7 separate regions of the Homo sapiens genome follow, and all the other regions are linked to region 7. The links are contacts of gene promoters, found by promoter capture Hi-C in blood cells and fetal thymus (Javierre and others, 2016). All regions are on one chromosome and are shown on one strand. The core of a region is centred on a gene start or on the middle of the fragment in contact, and the rest is flanking DNA. Distances in the headings are between cores, read along the strand shown. Region 1 holds the start of ZSCAN30 (zinc finger and SCAN domain containing 30). Region 2 overlaps ELP2 (elongator acetyltransferase complex subunit 2). Region 3 holds the start of ZNF24 (zinc finger protein 24). Region 4 overlaps RPRD1A (regulation of nuclear pre-mRNA domain containing 1A). Region 5 holds the start of RMP24 (ribonuclease MRP subunit p24). Region 6 overlaps ZNF397 (zinc finger protein 397). Region 7 holds the start of RNF138 (ring finger protein 138).

What was found. The method cuts DNA at HindIII sites, captures the fragments that hold promoters and counts their contacts. A CHiCAGO score of 5 or more calls a contact.
Region 1: the fragment with the promoter of ZSCAN30 here is called in contact with the fragment with the promoter of RNF138 in region 7 in 1 of 17 cell types (activated CD4 T cells); the score reaches 5.5 in activated CD4 T cells.
Region 2: a fragment that was not itself captured here is called in contact with the fragment with the promoter of RNF138 in region 7 in 1 of 17 cell types (non-activated CD4 T cells); the score reaches 5.4 in non-activated CD4 T cells.
Region 3: the fragment with the promoter of ZNF24 here is called in contact with the fragment with the promoter of RNF138 in region 7 in 1 of 17 cell types (total CD4 T cells); the score reaches 5.4 in total CD4 T cells.
Region 4: a contact is called between a fragment that was not itself captured here and the fragment with the promoter of RNF138 in region 7, in 1 of 17 cell types (non-activated CD4 T cells). The highest score is 6.1, in non-activated CD4 T cells.
Region 5: a contact is called between the fragment with the promoter of RMP24 here and the fragment with the promoter of RNF138 in region 7, in 3 of 17 cell types (activated CD4 T cells, total CD4 T cells and non-activated CD4 T cells). The highest score is 7.9, in activated CD4 T cells.
Region 6: a contact is called between a fragment that was not itself captured here and the fragment with the promoter of RNF138 in region 7, in 1 of 17 cell types (non-activated CD4 T cells). The highest score is 8.2, in non-activated CD4 T cells.

What each region holds. Positions count from the first base shown.
Region 1 is chr18:35,288,542-35,292,542 of GRCh38, reverse strand. ZSCAN30 (zinc finger and SCAN domain containing 30) reads left to right here and starts at 2,314. Exons shown (of 4, transcript NM_001112734.4): 1 at 2,314-2,459. It also overlaps the pseudogene ZNF271P. RefSeq lists an enhancer at 2,038-2,197. The HindIII fragment of the contact is 2,453 bases long and covers 1,418-3,870 here.
Region 2 is chr18:36,131,633-36,135,429 of GRCh38, reverse strand. It overlaps ELP2 (elongator acetyltransferase complex subunit 2), which reads right to left. Exons shown (of 22, transcript NM_018255.4): 2 at 2,114-2,192. Among named protein-coding and RNA genes, the nearest start is that of ELP2, 3.6 kb to the right of the region's middle. The HindIII fragment of the contact is 1,132 bases long and covers 797-1,928 here.
Region 3 is chr18:35,342,427-35,346,038 of GRCh38, reverse strand. ZNF24 (zinc finger protein 24) reads left to right here and starts at 1,619. Exons shown (of 4, transcript NM_006965.4): 1 at 1,619-1,679. It overlaps LOC124904283 (a long non-coding RNA gene), which reads right to left and starts at 1,985. Exons shown (of 2, transcript XR_007066337.1): 1 at 1,300-1,985. RefSeq lists a silencer at 1,392-1,561 and an enhancer at 2,242-2,301. The HindIII fragment of the contact is 2,541 bases long and covers 1,285-3,612 here.
Region 4 is chr18:36,063,169-36,067,027 of GRCh38, reverse strand. The region is part of intron 1 of RPRD1A (regulation of nuclear pre-mRNA domain containing 1A); the gene reads left to right. Among named protein-coding and RNA genes, the nearest start is that of RPRD1A, 2.5 kb to the left of the region's middle. The HindIII fragment of the contact is 5,831 bases long and covers 1-3,859 here.
Region 5 is chr18:35,971,326-35,974,790 of GRCh38, reverse strand. RMP24 (ribonuclease MRP subunit p24) reads right to left here and starts at 2,112. Exons shown (of 5, transcript NM_031446.5): 1 at 1,986-2,112; 2 at 1,884-1,906. The coding sequence starts at 2,062. It overlaps LOC105372066 (a long non-coding RNA gene), which reads left to right and starts at 2,340. Exons shown (of 4, transcript NR_188032.1): 1 at 2,340-2,393. RefSeq lists an enhancer at 1,430-2,322 and silencers at 2,242-2,391, 2,331-2,625. The HindIII fragment of the contact is 7,007 bases long and covers 1,575-3,465 here.
Region 6 is chr18:35,244,016-35,247,515 of GRCh38, reverse strand. It overlaps ZNF397 (zinc finger protein 397), which reads right to left. Exons shown (of 4, transcript NM_001135178.3): 4 at 1-2,254. The coding sequence ends at 1,206. Among named protein-coding and RNA genes, the nearest start is that of ZNF397, 4.7 kb to the right of the region's middle. The HindIII fragment of the contact is 570 bases long and covers 1,768-2,337 here.
Region 7 is chr18:32,090,551-32,094,338 of GRCh38, reverse strand. RNF138 (ring finger protein 138) reads right to left here and starts at 2,465. Exons shown (of 8, transcript NM_016271.5): 1 at 2,104-2,465; 2 at 1,453-1,639. The coding sequence starts at 1,562. It overlaps LOC124904278 (a long non-coding RNA gene), which reads left to right and starts at 2,394. Exons shown (of 2, transcript XR_007066327.1): 1 at 2,394-2,484; 2 at 2,837-3,064. It also overlaps a transcript of RNF125 not described here. RefSeq lists a silencer at 1,627-2,046 and an enhancer at 2,717-2,766. The HindIII fragment of the contact is 10,157 bases long and covers 1-3,788 here.

The sequences.
Region 1 (4,001 bases), core at 1,065-3,564, 3.2 Mb before region 7:
AGAATTTACTGTAAGCAAAATCTGTGCTCAGAGTTTTACGTTAAGGATCTTGTTTAGTTTTTTTTTTTCTTGGTGTTTTTTTGGAGATCGCATTTTATTCTGTCACCCAAGCTGGAGTGCAGCGGTGCAATCATAAGTCACTGCTGCCTCTGAACTCCTGGGCTCAAGCAATCCTCTCACCTCAGCCTTCTAAATAGCTAGGACTACAGGCACACACACACCACCATGCCTGGCTAATTTTTTAAATTTTTGTAGAAATGGGGTCTCACTTTGTTGCCCAGGCTGGTCCTCAACTCCTGGCTTCAAGCATTCCTCCTGCCTTGGCCTCCCAAAGTGTTGGGATTACAGGTGTGAGCCACTGCACCTGGCCTGTTATAGTATTAGTGTACCCCAGTGAATCCTATCTCCCAGTACCCATATCCCTGTGTAGTTTCCTTCTATAATGACTTTAGAACTGGTCATATGACCTGCTTTCATCAATGAGACATTAACAGATGAAACACATTAACAGATGAAACACAAACATAGGTATGAAAAGAGCTTGCCTTCTCTGACTGGAAACAAGCTGTCCTGTGAAAAAGTCCAGCGTCACCTGCTGAAGACATGAGGACTCAAGCCATAGCCGGCACTAACAGTTTGACATTGAGACAACGTGATTGAAACCATCTTAGACCCTGGCCCCAGTAGAGTCAGCCTTGAGATGACTGCAAAATGACCCCAGAAAAGACCAAGAGAAAAAAAAATGCCCAGGTGAACCCAGCTCAAGTTGATGACCTACAGAATCATAAGAAATAATGTGGTTTAAGAAGTCTGATGTTTTAGGTCACTAAATTTTGGGGTTCTTTATTCTGGAGTAATACATAGATACAAATCTCAAAATAACTTCAAGGTATGAAGTACTATGCACTTGAAAAGTGAGGAAACAGAATCGTAAAATATATGAGTAACTTACTGGAGCCAGTTAAGTGACAAAACTACTGTTTGAATCTAGGTTGTCAGACTCCAGAACTTTTAACTATGCCCCTACAGTAGATAAGAAAAATGACCAAAACTGACAGATTAGCAATGAGGTCATTATACAGGGAAAAATGAATGACTTTGGGGTCTTAAAAAAGTGGAGAGAGCTGCATGAGAATTTGATCGCCAGATTTTGAAATAAAGTCATGTGACTATGCTTGGTACACTAAAGAGGTAATACTGCCTAACAGAGTTAAGGGGGATCATTTGAAGACACTAGCATAGAGTGACACCCCCTCATCCTCCCCACCCCGCCAAAGCCACTAAGAAAGATATAATACCCTGCCTCTCACCTGACAGAAGGTGGTGTTCCTGAGATTCATAATTGAACTGGATCTCCATGGGCTGCAACTGGACACCTCAGTGTGCAAGTGGAGAATTACCATTTCCTCTGTAAGCTTTTCTTGTCCACATAAAGGTCTGGGACCTGGAGGCAACTGGGCACCACTGGGCTTGGAAGGGAATCATTGTGCTGACTACAGATGTAATCTCTGAGACTAGACCACCAGAAAAATCCTCAAGATATAAAAGAAGGAGAAAACAAAAAATCTCATTTGACTTCCAGTTGCTTTTCTCTCAGAATGTATTAGGCTTCCTCCCCATCATCCAAGAGCCAGGGATTAACCCACTTAAGACACACATTCCCCATTCCAAGTCTAGAGATGTTCAAACAAAATTAGGGGTTAATGCTACCAAAAAAAGGTATAACTGGAAAGATAACGCAGAGAGGGGAATTTTACAGTGAATTCTAGTGGTTAACACTATGTTATTCGCTGCCCTTCCTATCCAAAAATGACACTACTGATCATTTTTCTTCCTTTTGCTTTTACAACATTCACAAATTCAGGTGGCTCTTTCCCAGTACGGTAGGCTGATTCGTATGGATGCACCACGGTTGGTGACTCCCCCCACCCCACAGAGTTTCTGGCGTTCATTCGGTTGAACCCAAGGCCAGCAAGGGCTGACTGGGAACAAACCGAACACTAGGCCGTGAACCAATCGTCTCTCCGTGCCCGGGAGCGACCCCGGGGGCCTTCACTCTCCAAGGACTCGAGAAACCATGCACAGTTTCCTGCTCGTTAGGCAAGATCACCCGGAACTCCTCTGCTATCCGCGAGCCGACATCACCCTTACCTCGACTTGGTCACCGGACCGCTGTGAAGCCTCACACCCGGCGAACCTGCCATCGCCCTGTCCGCTCTAGGAATCTGGGAGGAGTGCTCAGCTCTATGGCGCTTCACCGCGCAGGCGCAGGGCGGGGGTGGGGCACCGGGTGACGGAGGGCTGCCGAGAATTAACCCCCGAACCGCCGCGAGCTGTCCCTAGCAGTGCCTTAGCCAGGGACCTGCTTGGCCAGCGACAGATCCTTTGCTGCTCTGTCTGCCGGTTCTTGAGGTGAATGTCGGAATCCATTATCTTTCGGGAAAGCTCTCTGGGGCAGGGTAGGTTTTCTTACTACATACAAGTTCTTAATTAGTTATCGTTTTTTAAATAACCACCCCTCCCCCTATCGCTTATCTGATTCGTAGGTATGCTTTAATTCTAACTTTCTTCCTGTCCTCTCTGGTTTTTCACACCCCCAGAAGAGTAGCGCGCATCAGAATCACCTGGAGGCCTTGTTAAAATACTGACTTCTGCCCCACAACTCCGGAGTTGCTGATTTAGTAGTGGGGGAGGGGGCGGTGGCAGCCCAGGTTCTCAGGTGATCCTGAAGCTGTTGGTCCTGGGACCACATTTTGAGAACCACTGCCCAAGAAATAAGTGATGCTCAGTAATTAATCCCTGAATTAACGGAAAGTTGGATTTTTATCTACTTTGCAATCTAGAAAGGGTACGAGGTCTATTTAAGGTTTGCTTGCTAGAACAATTCTCACTGATCAGGGTGAGAAGGACCCGAAATGGAGGGTGCGGGGTAATCAGGGTAGGAAAGGATATTGCTGTGTTCATGGAAATATCTTGGGAAATGAGGAGTTGGGACCTCATTTCTGTTGAGACCAATGAGACGTGTGACTTGGTTTAAGCTGTCCGGTGGGGAAAGGAAGAGGTTTGAGAAAATGGTGGGTGGCTAAGTGGTAGTTGAGGTGGAGGAAGAGGGCTTCCTGTCCCAGCCCAAGTCCCTGTTGGGATATATGAAATTTAGGGATGTATGACTAAGCCCTTAATATAACCGTAAGAGGAAAGAGATGTGGGAACTTGAGTCCAACCCTCCCAAGTAGGGAGTGCAGATAGTTTTAAAAAAACAGCTTTCTTTTTGGCCAGGCGCAGCTTAGGCCTGTAATCCTAAAACTTTGGGAGGTTGAGGCAGGTGGATCACCTGAGATCAGGAGTTGGAGACCAGCCTGGCCAACAAGGTGAAACCCTGTCTCTACTACAAATACAAAAATTAGCTGGGCATGGTGGTGTGCGCCTTTAATCCCAGCTACTTGGGAGGCCGAGTCAGGAGAATCGCGTGAACCCATGAACCCAGGAGGCGGAGGTTGCAGTGAGCCGAGATTGCGCCACTGCACTCCAGCCTGGGTGACAAAGCGAGACTTTGTCTCAAAACAAAACAAAACAAAACAAAACAAAACAGCTTTATTGAGGTATAACTGACATAAACAGCAAATATTTAAAGGATATAATTTGATAAGGCTTGTTAAATGAATACAGCTGTGGAACTATCACTGCAATCAAAATAATATGTTTATTACATCTAAACCCCAAAAGTTTCCTCCTGCCCGTTGGTAAGCCTCTCTCCCAATGCCCCCTCCACTGGTCAGCTGTTACTAGAGATTAGTTTGCATTTTCTAGATATTTATTTAAATGGAATCATACAGAATGTCCTTGTTTTTGTCAGAGTTGTTTCACTAAGCTTTTATTTTGAGATTTATCTTTATTGCTGTGTGTATCAATAGTTAATTTTTGTTGCTGAATAATATTCCATTGTATGTATATACCACAGTTTGTTTATCCAATCACCAGTTCATGGGCATTTGGGTTATTCC
Region 2 (3,797 bases), core at 113-2,612, 4.0 Mb before region 7:
TTCATGTGTCACAGCAATTGAGCCACTTAACTAACTATATGATTTTAAGAATGTCTATACATAAAAGTAATGTTAAAATTCAGACATATTAAAAATACAAAATGATATTAAAATTTTATATATCACCGATAAAGGGTTGGAAAGGCTATCTGCATTATCTGGCAGTTCAATGAAAGGAAATCAATCATAATAGTTATAGATTACAGTAATACACAAGCAATCCATTTTATGTAACCTCACTTTTAAACGGAAGATAAAACATACAAGCCTAAATTAACATTTTATAACAAACTCCTATACTGAAAGTCAGTCTTTGATGTTATCTGGTGGCAATTAATATAATTGCAATTATGTTTTATTATCCATACTAACAGGCATCCCTTGTACCATTTAATGATTTTTATTGACCTAACATGTGACTAATCCTACAGAAGCAAATAAGTAGCTTATTAAAACTTTTTTAAACATCATTTATAAAATCATAGCAAAGTCTTAATAATTCAGAAAATTTTGCATTTGTGCCTGGCTCAAAATGCCCTCAAATGAGTGTGTAATGAAAAATAAAACTAATTCAGAACCCATATCAAAACTACAGTAGATATATTTAAGATAACTAAAGAAATATCATAGGATTTTGGGAGCACCATCTAAAGGCAACTAATATTTTAACTGAAAATTCTGGAGTCAGAATCTTAGAGATGAAGAGACCTGGAGATAATCTTGTCCAGAAATTTTCATAACTTTTGGTCTTAGAATTCCTTTACAGTCTTACAATTTTTGAGGACCCCAAAAAGCTTTTGATTATATGAACCATATGTACCAATATTAACCACATTAGAAATTAAAACTGAGAAATATGAAAAATATGTGTTTAACCATTTACTTAAAAATAACAATGGGTTCTATGATGTGTGAACATATATAACATTTTGATGGGGAAAAACCCCAATGGTTTCCAAAACAAAAACTTAATGAAAGAGAGGAACTATTTTACATTCCTACAAATCTCTTTAACATATGATTTTATTAGAATATAGCTGGATTTTCATATCTGCTTCTGTATTTAATCTGCTGCAGTATCATACATCATGTGGCTGCTGGAAAACACTGTACATTCATGACAATGAGAATGAATACTGTGAATAACTTCTTGATATCATTATGAAAATAATTTGATCTCATAGGTCTTACAAACCTCTAAGACACCCTTGATCTAGTCCAATCTCTTACTTCTCACATGTTATTAAGGTGCAAACTAGGGTCAATAGAGATGCAATGTCTTGCCTAAAAAAGCAATAGCTGGCCGGGTACAGTAGCTAATCCTGTAATCCCAGCACTTTGGGAGGCTAAAGAGGGAAGACTGCTTGAGGTTAGGAGTACGAGACAAGCCTGGGCTACAGAGCAAGGCAGGAGAATGGTGTGAACCCGGGAGGCGGAGCTCGCAGTGAGCCGAGATCTTGCCACTGCACTCCAGCCTGGGTGACAAAGCGAGACTCCATCTCAAAAAAAAAAAAAAAAAAAAAAAAAAAAAACCCCTAAAAAACTAGAAAGGCGTGGTGCCACACACTTGTGGTCCCAGCTATTGCAGAGAACTCTGATGGAGCCGCTGCATTCCAGCTTGGGCAACAAGTGAGAGATCCTGTCTCTTAAAAAAATAAACATTCTAGTCTCCAACTAGTTGGCAAAAAAAAAATAAATAAATAAATAAATAAGTAAATAAAAGAAAAAAGAATAAAAAGAAAAACCAATAGCTTGTTTATGGCAGAAACAGACCAAGAAACCAAGTCTCTAAAACACAGCCTCAGTCTAGGCCCTGCTTACAAGTTCTTTTAATAAAGGTTACAGGCAACTGGGGAGGTGGGACAGGATCCTGCCAAAGTCTAGGGCTGCACTACCCTCATCCTAAGCACTGCTGTATAATCCAAGCTTCAACTGCTACGAAGTAAAAATACAGTTCAGATATTTCACTGGGAATACCATTTTTCTTGTTTCTCCAATTGCATAACATCATATAAGGTAATGCTAAATTAAGAGAAGTGATGAGAAAAAAATGGCTAACCTTATTTTATCAGAAAACAATTGAGATCAACTTTAAAATCTGGTTAATACTTACAGCCATCCTGTTTACAAATCCACTGTATGCAATTGACTCGGGCGGTGTGACCATTCAAGTTGGTAACAACAACCCTTTTCTTTAGAGAAGAAAATACAGTTAGTAAACTGGAATTTATCCTACAGAAAAATTAATAAATAAGTAAAAACAGATTTCAGTGTTTTCGATGCTAGTAAAAAGATCAGGTTTACATCAAACAGATTTGCCTTCTTCAATCTATAAACTTTTAACCATGGCTTAAGTCATCCATTCCTCTAAATCAGTCCTGCCTTTCTTGAGACTCCACATTCCCAGCATCCTGTCCTCCCATTACACTGAGCTCTCGCGTCTGCATCCACCCACCTGCTTCTGCTCACTCTCCTACAGTGCCCACATCCTTTTCACCTAGGCAGCCTGTCCTGACACACCAAACTAGACAAGCAGCTGCTTCCTTGTGGAAGTAGGCCTACTATGCTTGCACCAATCTGAGGGTTTCTCTGACCAAAAGAAAAAAAAAAAAGCCCTCCAATAGAAGAATCTGTGATTAATGGGTACAAGCACAGTTCACTTTGCATGCCAATGGCCAATGAGACGGTGGGTTTTTCAGACCCAGTGGCACAATGTCACAAGGCCACAACTACTAAGGTCCTCACACATCAGATTCCTGCAGGGCCTATTGCCAGGTTCTCCACAGATCCTCAACAGACTGCTTTCACCAACTTCACCCCACACTTGGAGGTCTCATACTTCACACACCATTAAAGATTTTAACTGTGACTACTGCACCTTCCTCTTTACAGCCCCTTTCTCTATCTGTTGTCAACGGCAATGGCTTTGTATCTGCTTATACGCCAACTAGAATTCTCATGGCTAAGAAAAAGGAAGAGGCAAATGTGCATAAACTAATATATTTCACATATAGGTTATTTGAGGCTGGAAAACAATTTACTGTACTTCACTGTCTCTCCCACTAGACTGAGAATTCCTTGGTGGCCACGCGCGTTATCACTCATTACCTTGTGTCATCATCACTCAGCCCAGGGCTAGCCCACAGATGGTCGTCGAAGATTTGCTGAATGAGCATCATTCCCAAAACTTTATTTTAGCATTTGAAATGCTTTTATTCCCATATTTACTTAAAAGCCCAATCGAGGCCAGGTGTGGTGGCTCATGCCTTTAATCCCAGCACTTCAGGAGGCCAGGAGTTGGAGACCAGCCTGGCCAATGTGGTAAAACCTGTCTCTACTAAAAACACAAAAATTGGCCAGGTGTGGGGGTGCACACCTGTAATCCCTGCTACTAGGGAGGCTGAGGCACGAGAATCACTTGATTTCGGGAGGTGGAGGTTGCAGGTTGCACTGAGCAGTTACTGTCACTACACTCCAAAAAAAAAAAAAAAAAAAAAAAGCCCGACCAGCAAATATTTAACAGGACAAAGTACTTTTTAGGCTCAACACTTCTTTGTCAATATGCTAAAATTCACTAGCTCAGCCACCAGGTTATCATTTAAAATCTGATGGAATACATGGAAACAAATCCATTCAACTGCTGCAAAAAGATGGGATTCTACAGCTGAATCAGAATTTCATTTCAGTGTGTTAAGTACATCAAAGCATGAGTATAATCATCTTAAAAGCAGATCTTGTCCTGTGATATAGCGGCAAGTTTGTCCTTGCAGACTTTACCAAGATGCTTCCTCTGCCGT
Region 3 (3,612 bases), core at 370-2,869, 3.3 Mb before region 7:
CTTCCTCAAGGTTAGGTTTCAGATTTATTATTTTTGTTTTCCAACATTAATTAGATGTAAAAACTCTTAAAACAAAAATGCCTTCAGCTAGCCTTTACAAATCAGATAAGAGGGAAAGGTTGGGAAGAGCAGCCAAGTTGCTTAGGGGCCGTATCCAAGTAGCAGAGTGAAAAGGCTGTACTTCTGAAGCTTCCTGCAATGGAGAGAAGTGTTAGCAGGGGTTGTGAGAAGAGCTCTGGTCGGAATGAAAAGCAGTGGTATACCATCAGCTGCTCGCTCACTTGCTCTCTCATGCACGAATCCAGCGGAGCCTGACGGCACTTTTCAGAGGGCATTTTCTCCAATGAGGCAAAAAGTCAAAGCCTGAGGATCTTGAAATGCTTATGTTAGGCTGGATCTACACTTTTGACCAGTCCTTAAACAACAGGGCTCCTTTGTGTGGTGTCTGATGCCAATCATGTGACCTAGCTAAAGGCAGCAATGTAACCATCCCACAATTCATTTATTTATTCAACAAATATTTATTGAGTTCTCTATTTACCAGGCAGTCAGCTTCCAGGATCTAGGATGGGATACTGTGGTGAGCAAGACAGACAAGGTCCCTGCCCTTAAGGGACTTAAAGACAAAACAAAACAAAAAATAAAACAAGTAAATAAATGAGATCACTTCCATTAATAACAGTGCCATGAAGGGTCATGCGCCATGAAAGGCAGGTGGTGAGGCTGAGGATCTTGGGCCACAATGAGCCGAGGAGCTGAGGTGACTGGGGGCGCCAGGGTCTGGGGGTGCGGGCAGGCAACAGACCACAGGGGACTTACAGGCCATTATAAGGAGTTTTTATGTCATAAATTATTATGACATAAATTGGAGGGCTTTAAATAGGGGAGTGAAGTGGTCTGATTTGTAATTTTAAATGATCGCGTCAGCAGTTGTTTTATGGTATAAAATGCCCAGCTTTAAGATGACCATGCATTCTACAAATTCACCGTGACATCACTGCCAAAACTCTTAACCTGTCTTATCTAGTTTTCCTGACAGATAAATAGGTCGGAATAAAGCTCCATGACATAACTAGTGGGAGCCAAAGATTTGAATCACGTCTTGGTTTCAAATCTTGCTACCCACAAATGAGTTGTGAGCTCTTGTCAGGTTATTTACTGTATTTGTGCCTCAACTATCTCAGCTGTGAAATGGGGATAATGAAAGTTCCTACATCATTTATTTGTGGAAAAAAAAATGACATGTAAAGCACGACGAGAGCGCCTGGCACAATGTAGTAAGCTTTCACAAACACTCACTTTCATTCCTTCTTGCAGGGGATTACTGAGAGGATCCACAAGATAATGCACGTGAAAGGGCTTGCGAAATTGTAAGGACTATCTTAATGGTAGAGTCCTCTTTATGTTTTCTTTTAAACGGTCCAGAGGACGCTGGGCTGTTCGAGGAGAGGCGCGAGGCCAAGCGCAGCCTCAATGCGGTCATTGTCGTGGGGCCGCCCCTCCCCCGCCCGGGGCGCTTCTCCATGGCAACGTGGGCTTTACCTCTCCCCGCCTCCTCAGGCCCGCAGACCGGAAGCAGCCCGCGCCGGGGGCTTCTGGGAAAAGGCTTGTGAACGGCGTTTCTGCGTCTGCCGTGGACAGCGAAGCTGCTGCGGTTCCTGAGCCGGAGGTTTGCGCCGGTGTGCGGGGAACGTTATGAGAGGGAGGGGGGACACCGGGCTAGGGTCTGCGGACCTCTTAGCAGGAGCCGGCGGGGAAGCCTGTCCGGGACCTTCCTCAGCTTCCCGGGAGGCGCGGGGAACAGGCCGCGGTCTCCGCGCCTAGCAGTTGTGGGGCGGGGAGGGGTAGGCGGCAGGCCTGCTTGGGTCTTCGGCATTTGCAGAGAGCTCTCTAACCCCCTGTGTCCTCCGAGACCCTCACCTTCCCCCTCCCCCACCGGCCGGTTTTGTTCTATTTCGAGGCCCTGGCGTCTCGCGGAGGGTTCTGGGAGTCGTGATGGGAGGGGGTGGTAGTGGGACGAGACTTGCGCGGGGCTTCTGGGATTTGTAGTCTCACCGGCCGCAGGCGGAAGTGCCGTGGTTCCGACGCTGTTGTCACAGGGTGGCCTTTGGTCATCTGAAATCCGCGGTCCTGAGTGCTGGGAAGAGGGGCTAGAGGACGTCGGGCCGGGGCCGGGGCCGGGGCCGGGATACACAGCAGGTCTATGCAGCAGTAAGGTGGGCGATCCACCTGGGACGAGGTACCCTGCCCAAACATTGTCGGGACCGTGGGCCTTCCCTCCATTTCCCACAAGCGGTATGCTCTACAGCATAAAAGGAAGAGAAAATTATGTAGAAATACTTGCACCGTTGATAAGCAGGGTCTTGGAATAGGAACGAATGAATGTTGGCTAGACCTTATGTATAAGGCCACCACACTCCAGGGTATTTAATTAAACCAGTATGTATTACTTGTCTGATAAGGCCTTTTCTGATTCTAGTCTTCATCTTGCTTGGGTTACAATAAGTTTTTTTAAGTTGTTATTGTTCAGATTTTGGGCCCTGAATAAATAAATAGGCTGAATGGCTCATTGCTAGTATGTGTCGTAAACAACAGCACGGGCATGATCGTGCAAATAATAAAGGTCCAGAAGCAGTATACAGTTTCACTGAAGGTAGAAGCTGGGGAAACTGTGAGTCCTCCAGTGTAAGGACAAGACACTGGACCACTGCAGGAAGTCAAGGTGCTTATGCGAGTGCCTTTTCTTAATAGAAGTTTCTGTGATTAATGCCTATCATTATAAATATAAATGTACGTATGGTGTGGTGGAAGACTGAATATTTACGTATTATGTGCAAGATAATTTTTCAAAATTATGTGATGTTTTTCACATATGATCTTTTCAATATTATGTGATCTGCTACTCAGCAAGTGAACATTTTTTCACATATAAGTCCAAGGAGTTCTTAAACACCTTAAAAATATTTTTTAAATGGTAAAGAAAATTTTTTTAAGCACATAATAATAAAGCGAACCTTCCTTTTGAGTTGACTTGTGTGTGTCAGGAAACACCAATCCTGAATTGGAAATAATGCGTTCCAGGGTCAGGCACATTTAGAAAGCACTGAAGTAGTCTGGTTCTTACTTGGATTCTTTTGATTATTGACATAGGGTTTGTCGTCTTAGTAGGTCATGATTGGCAAACTTTTTCTGTAAGCGGCCATATAGTAAATAAGGTCATGCATAACTCAACGATAGTGCTATGGTCTGAGAAATATGTTAGGCTATTTCATCCTTGTGTGAACGTCATAGAATGTACTTGCACAAACCTAAATGGCGTAGCCTACTACACACTTAGGCTATCTGGTATAGCCTATTGCGCCTAGGCTACAAACCGGTACGGCATGTTGCTGTACTGAATACTGTAGAGAATTGTAACACAATGCTAACTATTTGTGTATCAAAACATAGAAAAGATAAGAGTAAAATATGATATAAAATGTTTGAAAAAAAAAAAAGATATGCCTGTACAGGGCACTTACCATGAATGGACCTCGCTGGATTGGAAGTTGCTCTAAGAAGTCAGTGAGTGAGTGGTGAATTTGGAGGCCTGGGACATTATTGTACATTCCT
Region 4 (3,859 bases), core at 390-2,889, 4.0 Mb before region 7:
AACACGGAAACAGTAGCAGGGGGTTGGGACTCCACACCCAATTAGGGCCAGAAATTCAGGTGGTCAGGTATTTTTTTCATTCTGTGAATGATAATGGAGGATAAGGGAGGGAGAAGGTAGGGGAGTGGAAAGAAAAAGATTGGTGTGGGTTTGGGAGTTACTTCCGTCATTTCTGTAACGCAGCAACTTATTCTTGTGAAATTAATAGAGGAATAGTTTTAGAAGTCTAATATAAGAAGATGGGTAATGCAGTGGAAAAGACTCTGAATTTGTAGATTTTAGAGGGTCTCAATTGGGCAAGTTTCTTATAACTTCTGCGTTGCAGATGCCTTACCTGAAAAGGAGAGATTTAGAGTAAGTCACCTAAAGTCCTTTCCTATTCTATGATTATATGCCCTAATGCAGTGTCTTTGTTTTGCAAAACATTTGATAGTGTTCCTGTAAATGAAGTAAACTTTTTTGAGATGTCTGTCACTAAAATATTCAGAATCAGTTCATGTATGCAGAGCAACTTTGTAAAAAATTATCCTAGTGCGACTGAAAATAAAAAATTTCATTTGCTTAGTCTGAGCTTGTACTTTAATTCTTAATTCATTGGGTAGAGTGGACACTCTTCATTATTGTTGCAAACATCCTGATGGATATGATGGTTTTTTATCAAGTGTTAAAGGTTTTAACCGTTATTAATCAAAATAGACGCTTGCTTACTGAACCTTGTGAAAGCTATATGATGTATGTACGTAACAGCCAAAATGTGAGCCAAAATGTTGGCTGTATATAATGGAGACAATCTGTCCTTGTATATTGTTTGTGGTTATGAAAACGTCACCCATCCTTGAGAAGAAATTGATTTACAGCCTTGTTTTTCAGTTTATGTGTAAGTATGTGTGTATTGGCCCTGAATGAGGAATTCATCTTCTGTGAGTGGACGGAAAGGTTTCAGAAACACTGATATAAAGGTCTGGAAAGTAGCTGTGAACTTTGAAAAGTCAGGAATTAGCTTTGCTTTTACATTTTACTAGATTTCAGAATCGGTAACAGGTTTATCTTGTTTTTTGTTTTTGCAGAGAGCATTTAGAAACACATGTAATCAGTATAGGGTTGATACCCAGACTCTCTTAATAACTATTACAAATCAGTAAAAAAAAAAAATGGCAGTACTGTTTATAGGCATTTCACGTGAGGAAACCTGAAAGGTCAATAAATGATACTTAATCTTACAAATCAGGAAAAAGTAAGCCAGTGAGGTACCACTTTATGTTCATCAATTTGGCAAAATAATATGACAATATGGATAATTGTTGCAGAGAAACAGGAACTCTTATACCACTTGGTGGGAATGTAAAAATATGTAACTATTTTGTAGATCAACTTAGTTGATGAAGTTGGAGGTATATATTAAATATATCCTTTGACCTAGCAGTTTTCTTTCTAGGAATATATTCTAGAAATAAGTATTGTTCTCAAGAATTGTTTATTGCAGCTTCATAATAACAAAATTGAAAACAAGTGAGACCCTGCCTGTGCAACATAGTGAAACCTTTTCTTTACAAAAAATAAGAAAACAAAAAAACCATTCCATTAGTTTGAGAATGGACAAATAAATTGTGATATTAATAAAATGTAATACTATCGAAAAGTTCTCACGAATGGACTAGAGCTGCATGAAACAACGTGACTGAATTGAAAAACAAACAAAATCTTGAGCTAAGAAAACAAGGTACAGACGAATAATGCTATGGGGGTAAAGTCTAAAAACATGCAAAACAGTACTTCTTTTGTTTATAGATACCTATATTAAAATATGCATAGTAGTGATTAACACCATATTCCAAGATAGTGGTTGTCATAGTGTGTCCAGAATTGGTGGGTTCTTGGTCTCGCTGACTTCAAGAATGAAGCTGTGGACCCTCGCGGTGTTATAGTTCTTAAAGATGGTGTGTCCGGAGTTTGTTCATTCTGATGTTCAGACATGTCTGGAGTTTCTTTCTTCTGATGGGTTTGTGGTCTCGCTGGCTTCAGGAGTGAAGCTGCAGACCTTCACTGTGAGTGTTACAGCTCTTAAAGGCAGTGCGTCTGGAGTTGTTCCTTCCATCCGGAGTTGTTGGTCCCTCTCGGTGGATTCGTGGTCTCGCTGGCTTCAGGAGTGAAGCTGCAGACCTTCGCGGTGAGTGTTACAGCTCATAAAGGCGGCAGGGACCCAAAGAGTGAGCAGCAGCAAGATTTATTGTGAAGAGTGAAAGAACAAATCTTCAACAGCAGGGAAGTGGACGCAAGCGGGTTGTTGCTGCTGGTTTGGGTGGCCTGCTTTTATTCTCTTATCTGGCCCCAGCCACGTCCTGCTGATTGGTCCATTTTACAGAGAGCTGATTGGTCCGTTTTGACAGAGTGCTGATTGGTGCGTTTTATGATCCTTTAGCGAGACACACAGCACTGATTGTTGCATTTACAAACTTTTAGCTAGACACAGAGTGCTGATTGGTGTGTTTACAAACCTCTAGCTAGGCACAGAGCACTGATTGGTGCGTTTACAAACCTTGAGCTAGACACAGAGTGGTGATTGGTGCGTTTACAATCCTTTAGCTAGACAGAAAAGTTTTCCAAGTCCCCACCTGACCCAGAAGCCCAGCTGGCTTCACCTCTCAATGGCACTCGCCGCGGGACTTTGCGGCACCTAGCTTGGGCACTCTAGCAGCCCAGAGGGAGCTCGTCCCCCATCAAGCCCAGCAGGCACCCACCCGGAACCGCGCGTAGCCCAGGCTCCTGCCGGCGCCTCTCTCTCTACACCTCCCTGAGAGCAGATGGAGCCGGCTCCGGCCTCTGCCAGCCGCAGAGAGGGGCTCCCACAGTGCAGCAGCGGGCTGAAGGGCTCCTTGAGCACGGCCAGAGCAGACGCCGAGGCCGAGGAGGCGCCGAGAGCGAGCAAGGGCTGCTAGGACGTTGTCACCTCTCAATAGGAGAAAGCTATCTAATATTTAATGTATTTAAGAAAATGGTGCAAATGTGGTAAAATTGTAAGATGTGCTTTTAGCAAGGTTTGTGATGTTTCCATATGTTTAAGTGTTTCATAAGTGGAAAACGTTAAAGCATATAAAAAGATGCTTTAGGAGGAGGGTGGTAGTGATGATAGTGTTGATAGTAACGGTGATGCTGATGAACATACCGCTGCCGCTTTAATCCTCATATTAGCCTGGGCTACTCTGCCAAGGGTTTCCTTTTCTTGACAGATGACTGCTTTTGCAGGGTGTAGCCTTTGTGTCCTTCCCCTTTCCTGCAGTTTTGCTCATCAACTTCAGGATTCTCATCTCCTGTAGTTTAATGATAATGGCAATCAGTTACTGAGTACCAGACATTCTTTTAGTTATTTTACCATATCTTGAATCACATTATTTCTGCAGAATAATTATGAAAGGAATCGATCAATCTTGAAAGTATATTACAACAAACTAAAGAAAATTAGTTGAACATTTTGTGTTAAGCTAGGCATTCTTTAGTTTCTCAAAGTGTGTAAAGACAAAAATGTGAGAGTGGGAGAAGCTACTGTTTAAAATAAAAGAATGAGCTGGGTACTGTGGCTCATGCCTGTAATCCCAGCACTTTAGGAGGCTGAGGGAAGTGGATTGCCAGAGCTCAGGTGTTCGAGACCAGCGTGGTCAACATGGCAAAACCCTGTCTCTACAGAAAATACCAAAATTAGCTGGGCATGATGGCGCAGGCCTAAGGAGGCTGAGGTTGGGGGGTCACTTGAGCCCAAGAGGTTTAGGCTGCAGTGAGCCAAGTGCGCCACTGCACTCCAACCTGGGCGACAGAGCAAGGCCCTGTCTCAGAAAACAAACAAACAAAAAAATATAAGAATGAA
Region 5 (3,465 bases), core at 863-3,362, 3.9 Mb before region 7:
ACACATTAAGTAAACTCAAAATATGAAAATTTACAAAAAGATAAATTGGCAGTAATTTACCTTGCAAAATACTACAATTCCATCCATTCACTCCTTTCAGCAACAGATAGGCAAATCTCCAACCTATGCTAGCAAATCCTGTAGGCTTTAAAATATATCCTAAATCTAGCCACTTCTCATTACTTGCTACTAAGTTTTAAAAGGCTGTTATGTTTCACCAATTTTACCAATGCATTTACCACAAAATAACAAATTGCACTGCGATTTTGTTTCTTTTTTTAAATAATTAGCACAATGAATAGTATCTACTGTTGAGCACTGTGCTAAGTGCCAGGGATGCAACAGCACTTATAAAGCTAAAGACCACACTTAAACTTAGCTCTGCCAAATGTGAAACTCATTCATATTCACTAAGTGACAATTAAGAATGCCAGGCACTGTTCTAAGTGCTGGAGACACAGCAGTGAACAAAGGACAATTCACCGAGGCATACAATAAATATAACAACGTCAAATGTTAAGTGCTGGGAATAAAAAAGTAAGATAGGAGGGGGGAATAGAAGTATTGATGGAGTTACTGTAATTTTAAATAGGTGGCTAGGGAAAGCTTCATTGAGTGATATTATAGAGACCAGAGGGAAATGGAGGATTCACATGAAAGCAGATATGTGAGGCAAGAATCCCAGGCAGAGTGAAGAGTACCTGCAAAGGCCCTGAAACAGAAAAGCAAGGAGACCTAGTGTGACTGGAGTTGCGTGAAGGAAAGAGTACGTCAGAGAGGTATGCAGGTCTATGACACAGGGCCTTACAATCCTTTTAAAGGACTTTCACTTTTATTAATCCAGGAGAGAGCTGGTGATGGCCTGGAGCAGGGTAGTAGCAATGGATGTGGTGAGGAGTGGAGTGCAATGGCGCCATCTCCGCTCACTGCAACCTCCACCTCCCGGGTTCAAGAGATTCTCATGCCTCACCCTCTCGAGTAGCTGGGATTACAGGCGTGCACCACCATGCCAGGTAATTTTTTTGTATTTTTAGTAGAGACAGCGTTTCGCCATGTTGGCCAGGTTGGTCTCGAACTCCTGGCCTCAAATGATCCGCCCGCCTCTGCATCTCAAAGTGCTGGGATTACAGGGGTGAGCCACCGCTCCTGGCTGATTTTGGCTACATTTTAAAGCCAACAGGATTTGCTCGCATACTGGCCTGGGGGAGGAGAGAGAGTTAGGGAGTCAAGAATAGCTCCAAGGTTTTTGGGCTCAATAACTGTAAGGGAAGAATGGAATTATTTACTGAAATGAGAAAAACTGGAGGATCTTGTTGGGGGTTAAAGCTCAGGTTTTGGACATATTAGCTAAGTTTGAATTACTAGACATTGAAAAGAATTTGTCAAGAAGACATTCGGATATATGAGTCTAGAATTCAGAGGAGAGGTCTGCGCTGAGTATATACATTTGTAAGTCCTCAGTATATGGTATTTAAAAGCCATGAGATTGGATGAAAAACTGTCACCAAGGAAGCGAGTGTGCCTAGAAAAGAGGTCCAAGGGCTGAGTACTGGGCCACGACAATACTTAAAGCTTGGGGAGATTAGGAGGAACCAGCAAAGCAAATCGAGAAGTAATAAATGAAGAGGTGAACTACGTAATGACCTAGAAGCCAAGGGAGGAAACTATTTCAAGACTGATCAATGTGTCAAATGCCGCTAACAAAGCAAGACAAGGCACATTAAAGAATTTGGATTTTTCACGAAACCGAGACACATGCGGGCTTTGTTGTTGTTGTTTTTATGGAGGGAAGTGAGTCCATCGGCCTTATTTGAGCGTTGTGCGGAACAGAGGAAAGCGGGGCGACAAGAGCCCAAAGCACAAGAGACAGGCGTTCTTCTTACCGTGCGACGAAGTGTAGGCCCAGCTGTAAAAGAGAAAGAGACTTGTGAGGAGCAAAGGAACACCTACCCGCTCGCCTCCCGCTTCCCCTCCAGTCCTCTTACAGGAGGTAGCGGGCTTGGCCCGGGCAGCTGTCGTGCAGTCCCCGCGCTGCAGCCTCAAGGTAGTGCTTCTGTCTCATCGCCGCCGCCGCTGCCGCTGGCTCGCCGCGGGAACCAGGTGAGAAAATAGGGCGCCGGAAGTCGGCTTCCCAGCGTCCCCGTCGTTGGTGTCCGGACTCAAGCTGCTTCCGGAAACAGGCACCGTAGGCAGACAGGTTCCGGTTTCCTTCGCGTCCAGTCTGGCTTGGAGGCGTGCCCAGCCGGGAGGCGGCCCCACCCGCCCGCCGCGTCCCCGCCCCCTCAGTTCCACCCCTTGGCCTGCCGGGTCCTCTCAGGCACCCAGCGGAGTTTCGAGTCAGACTTGAGCTCGGGCGTAGCGGCTAGACCGGGCTGTGGCGATAGAGTCCAAAGGTGAGGCTCCCACCCGCCTCTCCATCTTCCTCCCGCCTCGCCTCCTCTCTGACAGCCCTTTTGTGATTGCCCTGCCGCAGCTTCGCCCTCCACATTCGCCGGGCGCGGTACTGACTGGTGCGCCGGCGGGCGGAAGCGCTGCCAGCAACGAGGCGGCCGGGAGGAGCGTCCCCAGTCCAGCCTGCCCTCCGCCTGCGTAAACGCTAGCGTTTCTCTTTTTGTAATTAAAGTGAAATTCACATAACGTAATATTGACCATTTTAAGGTGAACAATTCAGTGGCGTTTAGTAAATTTACAATGTTGTGCAAGCACCATTCTGCTATTTCCAAAATATTTCGCCGAAGGACAGCCAACTCCATGAAGCACTTACGGCCAATCCTCCTCTCCCTCCCAGGCCTTGGCAACCACCAGTCCGCTTTCTGTCTCTATGGATTTACCTATTCTGGGCATTTCATGTAAATGGAATCATACACACGACCTTTTGTGTCTGGCTTCCTTCACCTAGCATAATGTATCAGGTTCATCCACCTTGCAGCACGTATCAGTACTTCATTCGTTGTTATGGCTGAATAATATTCCATTGTATGGCGGTATCACAATGGTTTATCCATTCATCAGTTGAACGTTTGAATTGTTTCTACTTTTTGGCTGTTATGAATGAATGCCGCTGTGAACATGTGTGTACATGCATTTGTTTGAGTGCCTTTTTTCTGTTCTTCGGGGTATAATACCTAAGAGTAGATCTGCTGGGTTATGTAGTAATTCTGTGCTTAATGAGGGTTCCAGTTTCTCCGTATCCTCACCAACATTTGCTTTTCTTTTTCTTTTTTTTTTAAATCTAGCCTTCCTAGTGAGTATGATGTAGCATCTCATTGTGGTTTTGATTAACATTTCCCTGACTACTGATGCTTTTGAGCAGCTTTTCATGTGCTTGTTGGCAATTTATGTATCTTTGGCTGTTTAAGTTCTTTGCTCATTTTTTATTGGAGTTGTCTTTTTGTTGATAAGTTGTAAGGTTCTTTTAATGTGTATGTTCTGGATAGTGGACCCTTATTTAGCCTGCTTTATTTA
Region 6 (3,500 bases), core at 803-3,302, 3.2 Mb before region 7:
AGAAACAAATGATATGGCAGCTTCTGATCCAGAGCGTTGGGAATTTTAAGAAACCTGACAGCAGCTCTGATATTGTCTTTAGAATCAAAGGAGAATAGAGTCTTAACACTCTAGCAGACTCTTGAGGTATAGGCTGGGCTCTTTCTCACCCTCATTCCCACCACCACCCTCATGGAAGTTCTAGGATAGCCTACAGGTTGGGCAAGGAAACCACATATTTGCCCTTTCCCTGGGGTCACATAAACCAAGACAAAGCTCTTGACTACCCTGTGGCCCAAGGGCTCCAGGTTTTGTCTATTAACAGGAACTTCTCCATTGGCACTGCTTAAGAGTCTGGCCAGACCCAGACTTCTCTGACAGACAAGACCTCACTACAACAGGAACTCAAGGAATGCTCCACACTTTGTTTCTGGCCTTTGGCTACTGTTCTTTACTGGGGTACCACTTCCCTAGAGTACCACCTTGGCTAACTCCTCCTCATCCTTCAGGCCATTTCCCCCATTTCCTTATCCAAGGCTGAGTCAGGTGCTCCTTAAGGTCACATAGGAGCATTCCACTTTCACTGCCTGTCTGGCTGCCTTGCCCATTAGACTGTAGAGACTACAGTCTTGTTTTCCACTGTATTCCTAGTTCCTGGGACAAAGTAGGTACTCAAAAAATAACCTTTGGGTAAATTATATTCTTTCTTCTCATGCCTATCTAATTCCTGGCCTGCCCTGGGCTCAACAAATCATTGATGAAGCCATTTCCCCACCTTTCCTGCTGCTCTGTCACTGTTCTTTATTGGGTCAGTTTTTTTTTTTTTTTTAGTTCCTGAGACGAAGTGCCTCACACAGTCCACACCAGCCCCATAACCTGGCACACTAACAATCAGATGCAGTGACAGAGCCTGGGTTGCTATATTCATGACACTTTCATACAAAATGAGGTTTCAATGTTACATTCCCACTTTTCGTATTTCCTGAGTATTCCTAATAAGAGAAGAGCTGGAAGTAATGATTCTTCTGTATTCTGTTCTGATTAGTCACAGGAAAAGCTTTCAAGGGACACTTTACATTAGCACTGGGAAATGCTGCACAAAGCAAGCTAGACTCAAGACCTAGTATTTTATAACCTTTATGGAGTTTTGCTCCAAAGTAAACTCTTTTGACTAACAAACTTAAAAATCTGACTGAAGTATTTACACTATTCACAGTATTCACAAATTACTTTATAGTGTGGACTCTTTGATGGCGCATAAGGACCGATCTGTGCCTGAAAGCCTTCCCACATTCATTACATATATAAGCTTCATCCCCAGAATGAATTCTCTGATGCTGAACAAGGGCTGAGCTCCTTTTGAAAGTTTTGCCACATTCATTACACTGATAAGGTTCCTCCCCACTATGAATTCTCTGATGTCTGATAAGGTTTGAGCTCAAACTGAAAGCTTTTCCACATTCACTACATTCATAGGGTTTCTCTCCACTATGTATTCTCTGATGAGTAATCAGCTCTGAGCTCTGCCTGAAAGCTTTTCCACATTCATTACATTCATAGGGTCTCTCTCCTGTGTGAATTCGCTGATGTCTAATGAGTTTTGAGCTCTGGCTAAAGGTTTTCCCACATTCATTACACTCATAAGGTTTCTCACCAGTGTGAATTCTTTGATGTATAATGAGATATGAACTTTGACTGAATGCTTTGCCACACTCATTACATTTACAAGCTTTCTCACCAGTATGGATTTTCCGATGTCTAATGAGGGCTGAGCTCTGATTGAAAGCTTTCCCACATTCACTACATTCATATGCTTTCTCACCACTATGAATTCTCTGATGAATAATAAGATAGGACCTCAAACTAAAGGCCTTCCCACACTGGTTACATTTATAGGGCTTTTCTCCAGTATGGATTCTCTGATGTTGTGTTAGAGAGGAATGCTGCTTGAAGCTGTGCCCACATACATCACATCTATAAGGTCTCTCTTCTGGAGGAACTTTCTGACACATTATAGAGTCTGTAGTTAGAATCAAGCATCTTTCAGCCTCATCATAAAGGTCTCTCTTTCCTAGAGATTTGTTTGTGAAGATCACTTGACTAAAACTGCCCCCTTGGGAAGGAGATCTTAGTTTCTCCCCTGTAGCACTTCCTTGCTTCCACACTAAATTGCTTTCATGCTCACTAATTCCTCGAAATGAAGGTTCCTGAGGGAGTCCCTGTGATTTTTCTTCTGAGATGCCCTCTTTTGTTGCTGTTTCACTGTTCTCACAATCTGAAACAATAAGTAGCAAAAAAACAGATATTACATTTCTCTTGTCACCGTCAAAACTTTCTACATGAGAGAAAACAGAAGCTTCTACCTACAAAGATGTCACTGTCCTCCAGTATCTTTTTTTTCAACTGGCCAAAAGAGGGTCTCTCTTATCTAATAATAAAGTCTACATCTACACTTCGAATTCCATCCTTTCCTGCCTCTTTTGAGACATCAACTGATAAATTACCTACAATTTTTTTCTACTATTTACAATCTCTTTCTCAACTGATTCCTGTTCATCAGCTTTTAAATAAGCTTAAGTGTCTCTCACCTTTTAAAATCAACCTTCTTGCCTACATATCTCCCTCAAGCAACCTCACTCTCTCTCAAGTGGTTTCGCAACCTCACTCTCTCATAGTGATTTCTTGAAAGAGTTGTCTGCAGCCTTTCAAGTGAAAGTATCCTCATTCCACAATCTGGTTTCTGCCTTACTGTCCTCCCCCGCCCCCCACCGCCCCGTCCCCTACTTCCACTGATACTACTCTCATCAAGATCACTTCATAGCTCTTTAATCCACTAAGTACTTTCTAGATTATTACTTAGCCTCTCTGTAGCATTGACACTGAGGATCACACCTTCCTTCTAGAGACATTCTCTTCCAGTGATATTAGCCTGATTTCTGTGGCTGTTCCTTCTTAGATTCTAGGGTAAATCACTCAAACACGAGCGTTCCTCCAGATTCTGTTTTGGGCTCTCATGTATCCTTACTCTACAAACTCTCTACCCTTGGCTTCCATTACATCTTACATTGTAAGCTATTGTCTGACTAATGTCTGCCCAGATCCCCAATTATATCCATATTTTATTAAGCTCTAGAGTCTTATGCTAATTGGGCATTTTACTTTTGAATATTTCACAAGCACCAAATGTACCAACCTAAACACATCATCAGATGTATCTGTTTTTCCTTATGTTTTCTCATTCACATGAACAGTACTACCATTAACCAGACTGTTGAAGACTGAAACCTCAGTATCATCCTCAACTCCTCTCCCTCACACTCTAGTTTTAATAATTACCAGATGTTGCAAAACAACTTAAATGCTGTTGAACAGGAGTCAGCTTTTATGTTCTCCACCGCTTACCATAACACATATTGATTGAATACACTGTGGCCACTTGGATTACAGCAGTCTTTAATAGGACTATACTCTTGCCTTCCTTACATGATTCTCCATTTGCAGCTAACTTCTAAACTGCAAAT
Region 7 (3,788 bases), core at 1,216-3,715:
AGTTAAGATTGGGGAAAAAATGAGAAGAGTTGGTATCAAGAAAACAGCCACAGTAAGGGCATTTGCAATTAAGAACCAAAAATTCAATCCATCCTTTACAAAATTATAGAACCTCACCTCAAAAAAAAAAGAAAAAAAAGTCGAAGGAGAATGAAATACATTTAGAAGGTTGGTCAATTCTTTTCAGTTGTTTGCAAACACACGTAACTTTCAAGCCTGAGTGTGTTTTTTAAAAATAAAGATTTCCGGGCGGGGCGCGGTGGCTCACGCCTTTAATCCCAGCACTTTGGGAGGCCGAGGCGGGAGGATCACGAGGTCAGGAGATCGAGACCATCCTTGCTAACACGGTGAAACCCCGTCTCTACTAAAAAAAAATACAATAAATAAATAAATAAAGATTTCCAGGCCCCACCTGCCCGAACATTCTTTTGTTAAGTTTGAAATGGAGCCTGGGAATTGGTATGTTTACTTAAAAAGTTCCCCGGGGACTCTGATCATCAGTCAGGTCTGTCAGAAGGGCTATACACCTTCTCAACAAGGGCTCTTTCCAACCCTTACTCACACCCTAGCTGTCCATAAAATTTTATCAAAGTTCTTGTAAATATGCCTGCCAATCAAACGCATGCGTTATCTCACCCAACCCCTTTGTGTTCTCCCCCACCCTGGGTAGCATCTCAATTTCGGCTCATTCCTCATAACAGAAGTCTTCCTTTCTCCTCTCCACCCTTGTATTAATCAAGTAATAAGTAAGCAGAAAGGTAAAACAAAGGGGAACGCTCATTTCAATGCCCGAAAATCCTGTCAGTTTTAAGAGACCAGAGAAGAAAACTCATTCTAGATCCCTCTAACACATAGTGGACTGGAAACGAAACAAAACGCTCTCGAGGGTGTTCTGTGAAGCAGGGTTGAGGGGAAGTTACAGAAGAGCTCTTGGACCGAGGGGACGGACCAAGGTTCTGAAAGAGGAAACTTGAAAGCAGGGCAGGTCGCGGGGCGAGCGGGCCCGCGCGAGCACCGCCGGCCGCTTTTGACACTCGACACCCCAGCCTTCACCCGGGTTGCTAAGAAACAAAAAGGCTCCAAGATCCCTGCAATTCCTCCCGGGCCTGGCGGAGACGACAGGGGCCTCCGGGGCCTGAAGACGCCGCAGGGAACGGCCTGGCCACTGCCCCGGGGGCGCGAAAGCCAGGGAGAGCGGGAGAGCGGGAGAGCGGGAGAGCGGGAGAGCGGGAGCTTGGGCTGAGGGGGCTGGACGCGGGGAGCGGGCCCCGAGGCTGAGGAAAAGGCCGCCCCGGGACTCTGAGGGGCGGGGAACGGGACCTCGCGGGGCAGCGACGCTCGGGCAGGCCGCGGCGGGCTCGGTTCCCGCCAGGCGGCAGCCCGGGGTCCCGGGCCGGAGGCCGGGCCTAAGCGACAACCCGGCTCCGCGAGGGGGAGGGGGCGTCTACTCACACGTGCTGACAGGCCGTGGTCCGCACGGGCGTTTTGAGCACCTCCTGACAGACGGGGCAGTAGAAATCATCTTCGGTGTAGGACGTGGCCGCAGAGAGGTCCTCGGCCATGGCGGGGGATGGGGAAACAAGGCGATGGCGACAGCGGCAGCGGCCGAGGTGACGGTGGCGGCCCGGGGCCCGACTCCCTACATGAACCCGGAGGGGGGAGGGGGATCGCATCAGGATACAGCGCGCGCCAGGAAGGGGGCGGGGCCCTGGGTAGGGCGGGGCCGAACGCAGAGACGCTACTGCCGCACGCGCCGGGCAAGAGGCGACCCCTCCCACGGCTCCTCCCACAGGGGGCTGGATGGGGGACGGTGCTTGGCGGGAGGCTGGGCTCGCAGCATGCCGTGGGCCCGCCCCGCTCGCCCCTCACCCCGCCCCAGGACGCGGCCTCACGCTCTAGGCCACGCCCTCACCGGGCTCCAGGCGCGGGCTCGCGCCCCGCCCTCAGCCCCCGTCTTCGCCCAAGGCCTCCCTTTTCACTGCTTTTCCGCCTCTACTCACCCCGACCCCGAGCCCCGAGTGCCCAGCCCGTGTCCGCGGCTTCCTCCCCGCCCCGCTTCCCGGCACCCCGGCCCCTCCACGCTTCCGCCGGGGAGACTCTCACCTAGGAGCCCCGAAGCGGCGTTGTGGACGGAGCTGCTTTTCCTTCACGTGTTCGTAGAGACCCGGCCCAGCGCTTTCCTCGAGCTTCCTGTCCGGCCGCCGCTATCTTCGCAGCCGAGGCCCCGGGGCAAATGGAGGGCGGCGTGCGCTGTGCTTATCGGCCCCTAACGGGGCCGGAGCCGAGGCTCATGGTGCAGGGAGATTCGCCCGCCGCCGCCAGCAGCTCTGTCTTGGCATTGCGCTGCCTACAGCCTACCCGGCCGTCACCGAACGCGGGAGCGCCGGGGATCTGGGCGGAGGAGCCAGGAGAGGCGGGGAGGCACGGGGTGTGAAGTGCGGCCTGTATAGCAACCGGCGCACGGCGCCTTCCGCGGGTTGTGACGTAAGCAGCTGGGCGCCCGCGGTGACACCTGCGCCTCCCCGCCCCGCCTCGCTAGGCCCGGGACCCCAGTTACCTCTCCTGTCAAATACATTGGGCCTTTCAGGAAGTTTTCGTCAATGTTCAAGATTTAGTCTTTACTATTTGCCCTACCAGAATGTTTTGATCTTGTCAAGATGTGTTATAAACAAATATTTGTTACGGGATTTTAATCCTTTGGGGGCAGGATTAAAGTTTCCTTGAGAGGATGTCCACTTTCTCCTTTAACAGCATGACCGATGCTTAAATACGGTCGCAGATGCAGTCTTCTACTACACCTTTGGGTTGATTTTTGATTTTTTCTTTTTTTTTTTAGCTTTGAAGAGAAATGCCGTAGAAGCATGGACGTGGCTTTTCACCAAGGTTATTCACTAATTTAAGTGTTTTTTTTAATTTTATTTTATTTTATTTTATTTTTTGAGACAGGTACTCACTCTGTCTCCCAGGCCGGAGTGCAATTATCTGTACAATTGATAATCTATAAGATGGTCCAACCTGCGTAACAGAGTGAGATTCCGTCTCAAAAAAAAAAAAAAAAAAGAAAGAAAAAAGGCCGGGCGCGGTGGCTCACACCTGTAATCCCAGCCCTTTGGTAAGCGAAGGCGGTTGGATCACTTGAGGTCAGGAGTTCAAGACCAGCCTGGCCAACGTGATGAAATCCCATCTCTACTAAAAATACAAAAATTAACCGGACATGGTGGTGGGAGCCTGTAATCCCAGGTACTCGGGAGGCTGAGGCACGAGAATCGCTTGTACCCGGGAGGCAGAGGTTGCAGTGAGCCGCGATCGCGCCGCTGCACTCCAGCCCTGGCGACAGAGTGAGACTCTCAAAAAAAAAGAAGAACAAAAAAAGGATAAATCGATAAGATGGGATCCACAATGACGTGAAAGAAGCTAAGGAAAATCTGGAACATTATACAGCATCTACAATTAGCTTCAGAGAAAAGAAAGGTTTTATTACCATCCTTTGTTAAAACCCTCCCCCATGGTCTAAATGAATAAACAGAAGCCATTTAAGGGACTATTTAAATCAATTCTGCCATTTATTGTCTATGTTGACATTGGCATTGTTAGGTGTTATGCAGATGTCATGAACTTTGCTCTCAACCTGTTTACATTATTACATATCTATCAGAATGAGAGAGAAAAAATGGTATTTGCCAAAGTATTAAATTTTGCATTAAACGATGGCTATAATGAGGATAGGAAATGGAATGATTAGAAATATATAGAGTTAACAGAAAACTTTATGGAGGAAATGGGTTTTA